2 separate regions of the Homo sapiens genome follow, and region 2 is linked to region 1. The links are contacts of gene promoters, found by promoter capture Hi-C in human tissues and cell types (Jung and others, 2019). All regions are on one chromosome and are shown on one strand. The core of a region is centred on a gene start or on the middle of the fragment in contact, and the rest is flanking DNA. Distances in the headings are between cores, read along the strand shown.

Evidence for each region. The method cuts DNA at HindIII sites, captures the fragments that hold promoters and counts their contacts. A contact is called where the count stands out against the background at its distance.
Region 2: a contact is called between a fragment that was not itself captured here and the fragment with the promoter of FGF18 in region 1, in 1 of the 25 tissues and cell types used here (H1 embryonic stem cells).

Annotation. Positions count from the first base shown.
Region 1 is chr5:171,417,467-171,421,063 of GRCh38, forward strand. FGF18 (fibroblast growth factor 18) reads left to right here and starts at 2,181. Exons shown (of 5, transcript NM_003862.3): 1 at 2,181-2,765; 2 at 2,941-2,977. The coding sequence starts at 2,734. RefSeq lists silencers at 2,018-2,127, 2,248-2,357, 2,498-2,547, 2,608-2,687. The HindIII fragment of the contact is 5,522 bases long and covers 1-3,597 here.
Region 2 is chr5:171,736,070-171,739,890 of GRCh38, forward strand. LOC105377724 (a long non-coding RNA gene) reads right to left here and starts at 1,744. Exons shown (of 5, transcript XR_001742983.2): 1 at 908-1,744; 2 at 1-260. LOC105377723 (a long non-coding RNA gene) reads left to right here and starts at 2,316. Exons shown (of 2, transcript XR_941215.1): 1 at 2,316-2,400. The HindIII fragment of the contact is 7,714 bases long and covers 1-3,821 here.

The DNA.
Region 1 (3,597 bases), core at 931-3,430:
TGGAAATGATCCTGCCTCCCTACTTCATGAAATTGTTCAGAAAGAAATGTGAAAATAACCTGAAAGTAACCTGAATAATAATTAGGATTATTAGTTAGCAGCTAAAACGTTTGGAGTTTTCATTGTGTGCCAGACACTCATTGAGTACTCACAACTCTGTGAGAGTTGTTACTGTTCTTAGCCATATTTTGTAGAGGAGGAAGCAGAATCTCAAACCGTTGCTTGCTGGAATTTATAAGTAAATGTTGGTGGCAGTATTCAAATGCAGTACTTCTGACTCCTGAGTTTATGCTCTTACTCAGAACTGTTCTCTTGGCTGGACTTTTTGGTCAGTCTGATTTGTTTGGTAGGTGAGATTGGCAAATATACTTTGAGCATTGAAAAATACTGCAAGCATTTTAGATAGGGTATAAATAATTATATACCCATTCCATTCACAAGTAATAAAAAATAGTAACAATATAGAAAATTGGAAGCATGATTCTTAGCCAGGAGATACTTCAAACTAGCAGATGGTAAGCCAAAAACTCCTCGACTGGGTTTGTCAATCTTCCTATAAAGCAAGATCAAAGACGGCGGCAATGACTCGGGTCATCGGTGGGAGCATTTCTGTCCATTTCTATTTATGGTTGGTCATTGCATCCTATCTTGGGATCGATTCATTTTCTCCAGAACTTGGGAAGTTACGAGTAACTCTGCAAGTCCAGCTCTGGCAATCAGAATGTCTAAGTAAATTCAGCTTAAAAGCTTCATGCAGGAATTTTCCCCCTCAGCACCTGGTTTTGAAAAGGTTTTCTGCACTTGTGTCCGATGTTGAAACAGAGGCTATCTGTTTAAAATAGCCTCAGCTTTGAAAGGGAACTTAAAATAGCTTGCAAGGAGGCCTGATATTTGGAACAATTACTAATGTTTTATAGTCATGGCTTCAGCAAATAGCACTGTTCGACAGTCCTACCTCAGTTTATGCTCCAGTGGACCATCAACCATTGCCAACGCAAGGAGGCTTTAACCAAATAGTCCAGATTCCTGAGTTTTGCTTGAGCCTGTCCTCCAGCGTCTTTCTCACTGTGACCTATTTTCCTTAGCATCAGGCTCAAGCAGAGCTTGGCTGACACCAGCTCTAGACAGTGAGGCAGGTACGTGACAAGAACACCTACGTTTTGGGGTTGGTGGGAAGGACAGGAGTTATGCCTCTGGAAGGGGCAGAGGCGGTAAGAACCAGTGTCCTGAATGGGGCCCTGGTTAAAGGAACGAAGCTGCCTAGTATGCAAACGGAGGCAAGTCTTAGTCCGGTTTTGGGAGGAGGCCGGAAGAGGGCCTCAGCGTGGTCGCTGACCAGAGTCCTGCTGGCTGCTCCCCGGCGTGCAGCCGTCCGTGCTGGGGTTGCAGTGACGTCTCGGGGCCGCTTGGTGGTAGCCGTGTGTTTCCAAAGCTGGCTCGCCTACGGGAGAGTCCAGCTGGGATCCCGTGAACCGACCCCAGAGCCCCGGAGGGGGCGAGGGGTGGGAAGGAGAGATGCCCGGGAGCCCCCTTCGCAGCGGCAGGGACGTAAGAAGAGGACGGGGGCTCACTTAAGTGGGTAGCCAGTCAAGAGGGTGGCTGGGAAACTCCACGATCGCAGGGCGGGTAAAAGCGACCCCCATTCAGTGGAGCCGCCCCGGGGCTGGGTTTGACCCGCCCCTCTCGGCTCTCCACTAGAGCGCTGGTGAGTGAGTGCGAGTAGCGAATGTGGGCAGGTGAGGACGTTCCGTACCTAACTGCGTTCTTGGGGAGCATCGCCTGCCCAATTTGGGCAACGTTTGCGCGGAGGAGCGGTCACTGCGCTCGGGCGCAGAGCTCCGACGGCTTCCAGCGCTCACCAGCTTCAGTCTCGCGGGTCCTGCCCCTTTGGAGCTGCCGGTCCCGTCTCCGAGAGTCTGAGCGCCTCCCCTCCAACCCCGAGCCGCCAGGAGAAGGAGGAGGAGGCAGCGAGAGGCCGCGGCAGGCAGGCGAGCAGGCAGGGCCGCCTTTGATGTGGGCTGGGCGCACCCAGGCGAGCTGAGCGCCCGTCCGGCCGCGCCCCGAGGGGGGAGCCCCCAGGCCCCGCATCCTCATTGTGCCGGCTCGGGCCCGGGCCCGCCCCCGGCCCCCCGCCCCCTCGCCGCCCGCGCGTAGAAAACGCCCCGGCCGCCGCCAGTGGTGGGAGGCGGCGATGCGCACGGCCGGAGAGACGCGGAGGAGGAGACATGAGCCGGCGGGCGCCCAGACGGAGCGGCCGTGACGCTTTCGCGCTGCAGCCGCGCGCCCCGACCCCGGAGCGCTGACCCCTGGCCCCACGCAGCTCCGCGCCCGGGCCGGAGAGCGCAACTCGGCTTCCAGACCCGCCGCGCATGCTGTCCCCGGACTGAGCCGGGCAGCCAGCCTCCCACGGACGCCCGGACGGCCGGCCGGCCAGCAGTGAGCGAGCTTCCCCGCACCGGCCAGGCGCCTCCTGCACAGCGGCTGCCGCCCCGCAGCCCCTGCGCCAGCCCGGAGGGCGCAGCGCTCGGGAGGAGCCGCGCGGGGCGCTGATGCCGCAGGGCGCGCCGCGGAGCGCCCCGGAGCAGCAGAGTCTGCAGCAGCAGCAGCCGGCGAGGAGGGAGCAGCAGCAGCGGCGGCGGCGGCGGCGGCGGCGGCGGAGGCGCCCGGTCCCGGCCGCGCGGAGCGGACATGTGCAGGCTGGGCTAGGAGCCGCCGCCTCCCTCCCGCCCAGCGATGTATTCAGCGCCCTCCGCCTGCACTTGCCTGTAAGCGCCCGCGCGCGGGGCTGCCCACCTTGCCTGGCTGTCTGTCCGTATGCCTGTGCCCTGTACCTCTGTCTGCCCGCCCGTCGGTTCACCTGACTCTTCGACTGCGTGTCTGTCTGTCCGTGCGCCCCCTTCCTCAGGTCCCACTGACCGCTTCTCCATCTGTTTCCCGCAGGTGTTTACACTTCCTGCTGCTGTGCTTCCAGGTACAGGTACGTGGGCTCCTGACTTTGACCTCCTCCCGCCCCTGCCTCGCGGTACACGCCGACCCCCCTTCCCCGGCCGCGCCCCCTCCCTGTGCCCCACCCCTCCTGGGCGCTGAGCCCAGTGCACCTGTTCCCAGGGCGCGGAAGGGCGGCTCCGCGTGCGCCCTGCGCCGGCGGGGAACCGGCCAAGGGCAAGGGGCTCTGCCGCGGGGCCCGAGGAGGCGCTGGCTGTCGCGGCCACTGTCGGCCTCGGCTGGGAGGAGATCCCGCAGAGCCGGCGGGCTCAGCCGCAACAATATACCCAGCTCTAAGACCCCTGCCCGCAGCCAGCGAGGGGTAGGACCTAGGGATTTTCTCTGCCAACCTTCCCTTAACATCGCCGCTTCCAAACAAAAAGACTTTCAGCCGAGTGGATTTCGAGTCCAGGGAGAAAGCTTCAGTTGTAAATTACTCTGTGGTTTTGAAGGCGCTTGCAGCACTGAGACACACACACAGACACACACACATGCCCGGGACGAGGGGAAGCTCGAGGGCGCCTAGGCCGAGTGGCCGCTGCCCGCGAGGCCGCTCCCGGATGGGCCGCGCTCCGCACTCCCTCGCCTAAGGTGGTGCAGCCCTCGTTGGTT
Region 2 (3,821 bases), core at 927-3,426, 320 kb after region 1:
CAGGTCTTCTTGAAACTCAGCCACACAGATAATTCAGGTGTCCGATCATCAGACCCATCTCCAGGTCTGCACAGCAAAGGCAGCCACTGAAACCTTCCCCAAGAAGTCTGAGATTCGGTCCTGAAAGCAGATCCATTTCCACAGAATGGCTGTGGGTCCTTCCAAACCTGCGATTCCCAAGTGGTCAGGGTAGTTGGGCAATGAAATATGAACTCAGCTTCCAGTTGCTGAACGCATGCATCCAGTTTGAATGTGGATTTCTGCAATTCGGTTGACAAAAGAGTGTGTGATAGGGTTTCTTTTTCCTGCACTCTCAACTACAGATTTACTCAGATGTCTTTTCACATCATTAAGAAAGTACAAAGCTGGGCGTGGTGGCTCACACTTGTAATGCCAGCACTTTGAGAGGCCAAAGCGGGAGGATTGCTTGAGCCCAGGAGTTCGAGGCCAGCCTGGGCAACATGGTGAAAACCCAACTCTACAAAATAAAAAATAGAAAATTAGCTGGGCGTGGTGGCATGCCTATAGTCCCAGCTACTTGGGAGGCGGAGGCGGGAGGATCACTTGAGCCCAGGAGATCAGGGCCGCAGTGAGCTATGATCACACCACTGCATTCCAGCCTGGATGACAGAGTGAGACCCTGTCTCGAAAAAAGAGAATAAAGAAAAAAATAAAGTATAGTTATGAGGAGTCACTGGAGAGGCGGTTGGGGCATGAAGGCTGGGGGATTGTTCAACAGGTCAGGCCTCTTGGAGGTTCTAAAATCTCAAAATTCTTGGATTTGAGGAATTCCAAAATTTCCCCCAGAAAGCTGCATAAAAGTAAATGGGTTCTTCATACGCAGCTCAAACTTCTCTCAAATATCCCCAAACTGACAATAGAAAGGCACAAATATGAAAGAACTCACCATTTCCATGGATTTCCTCTGCCCTCACATCTTGCAATGAATCTCATCTGTGGAATTCACAGCACAGACCTTTCTGATACTTGAAGGATGAAAGGAGAATCTGGTGGCCTCATTTTCTGACTCAAGGAAAGGGTTAAAACCATTTTTCCTTTTCCCTGCAGGTGCCCCCTCTGGGGCAAATGAACTCAGCTTTTCCATGTTTAGAACAAAGGCCTCAAATTCCTTCCTGGCAGGTGTTCATGTATGTGAGCAAATTAGATTTTGAAAGTCTTTTTTGCCACAAGTCTCAGGCCATCAATGTAGGCTGTATGTTGGAAGTCCCAGGCTAGCCAGCGCCACCTCTCCGAGGCACTGCAAGCTGGAGCAGAAGAAAAAGGCAAGTAAGAAAACATGGAATTCAGAATCAGAAAAGCCTGGCTTCAAATTCCAGCATTGCCACTCTGCAGCTGGGCAACTTTTGACACATCACCCAGCTCCCTGAGCCTCAGTGTCCTCATTTGGAAAACAGGGATAATAACGCTTTCCTCACCGGGGTGTTTGAGGATCTGACAAGATGTCACATGTCAAGTGTCTGGCTCTTACTTAGTATTTAATAAGTGGTTGTGTGTTATGCTGGGTTCTTGATTGCAAGCCATGTGGTAATCAAGTGGAATTTATTGGAAGGCTATCAGGGGCTCATAGAATTGGCAGAGAAGAGTGATGAAGTCTGGAAAATGGCCAGAAACCAAGGGCTTGCCAGAGAGTTAAGCAACAGGGGCCTTAGCAAGGTCACGAGAATGGGTGGCCAGCACGCCACCGCTGCCGCTGGCCTGGAGAGCCTCCAGCCGCTCCTCCCGGCCCCAAATCACTCACTCAAGGGTCCAAGTCCTGGAGGGAACATGTGGCTACCCTAGCCTGGATTATGTGCATACCGTTTGGTTGCAGCTGGAGAAGAGAGGGGGAGAACTGGGTGTTTGTGCTTCTGTGTAAGGGGCAAGTTCATCACCCACTGTGCCGTGATGGCACACAATGGAGGGTGGGTCTCCATAGGGAATGGAAGTGCTGCTGGCCACTGAACAGTCCCAAGCCCACAAATGCTCACCACAAACGTTACTATTTAAATCCAGAAGAGAAGGCAGGTGCTTCTTGATAAAACCAGGGCAGAGTTACATGGTGTGGAGGAAAAGGGTGGGCTTGAGTTTCTGGCAAGCTCCATATGTAAGGGTTAAAATCACCTGAGGTGAGGGACTCTAAGAGGCGCAGTGCTCAAACCTCCACTTGTACTGACTGTGTGACCTTGAGCAAGTGATTTCAGCTCTCTGAGCTTCCGAGCTCTGAAGGCCCAGTTAGATGATACACCTAGAACACGCCTGGAACGAGAGCGGGTACATGGCAAACACTAAGGAAGATCTAGCTACGGTGATTGCAGTGTCTTCTGTTTAGAGAAGAGGACTGGCTTCTCCTGCACCTGAGGCCTGGAGGGTAAAGCAGAGGAGCAGAAGCAATAAACATGGGTAAGTGAGACTGATGTGTCTGGGGAAGTAAACAGCTTTCTCAGAGAGGCTCAGCCCCCTGTTAAGGGAGCTGAGTCCAAGCTCCTCTGGGGCTTCCAGCAATAACACACTGTTATGAGCAACTCCACGAGCCTGGGGCATGAATTTCTCGCCTAACATAAAGATGTCTCTGAACCTAAAATACTCCCCCAAATCACACTCAGTTCTGTCCTCGGAGGTTTTCCAGGGACATTGAGCAACTTACCTATTTTGCAGCTCGGAGCTTCCCCATCCCACCCACTCGTGACTCTGCTGAAATGTCACAGGAATCTCCTGCCCAGCTTCTTGTAACCCGAGAGTTGCCAAGGGCAGCTACCCTACGGAAAGAGATTCTGGTTCAGAGAAAATATTCTAGACAGAGCCGACATACATGTCTCTTTCTTTTTTCTGGAAGATGATTTTCCACAGTGAGCCACAAGATCCTTTTTCTAAATGAGAAAATAACAGCTTGCATGTAGCAATTGAGAGTCATCTACCCCTTATTAACCCGCAGCATTAATTAATTACTTATTCTACATGGCTCACTATCTTACACACCCTTTGAGGGATGATGGGGAAACACCAAACAAACGTAGGATTTGGTTGTCACTCATTTTCTCCAGGGTTCCAGGTTTCCCACCTTCACTGATTCCCAACAACATAACACAGTGTTACCTTATCGCATCCTCATCACATCCTCCTAGAAACCCTTGATTGGCTTTCCATTACCTTCAGGGGCCTCTTAGCACCACGTACAGTCTTCCAGGCCTGGCACCTGCCCACTTCTCCAGTCTTTCTTCTTTCCCCATCCCTCACGTCTTCTACTCTCCAGCCATTCGCTCATTCACTTTCCATTCATTCATTCTTCAAATGCGTACTGGGCAGCCACTCCAAGTCAGATGCTGTGTTAGCTGCTAGAACCACAGTGCACAGTGGGGGGACAAGACAAACAAGAGCCTTTCTCTTAAGAAGCTTACATGCCAGGGAATGTAAATAACAATGAGAGAAAGAAAGAGATGAGAGCATTTCTTTCTTTCTGTGAAAAGTGTTGCTAGGAGAATGCCACAGGGCGATGTGATTGAGAGTGAATGGAAGAGGCCGTGTGCCTTTAATTGGGTGGCCAGGGAAGGAAGGCATGAGTTGAGAACCAGCCACTCCAAATTTCTTGCAGTTCCATGATCGTCCCAGGTTTCGTCTATCCTCTGTGCACGTGCATACGCCACTGCCTCCTCCAAAATGCCCACTCCACCCCAGCCCCACAATCCCTCGTCTACTTGTAATCCTGGCTCAGTTTCATCTCCACAGGGAAGCCATTCCCAGTCTGCCAAGGGCTGACTTGGGCACCCCTTCTCAGTGCTCCCCAGATTCCCTGAGCCTTAGTGCCCACTCCACACCTACTCCAT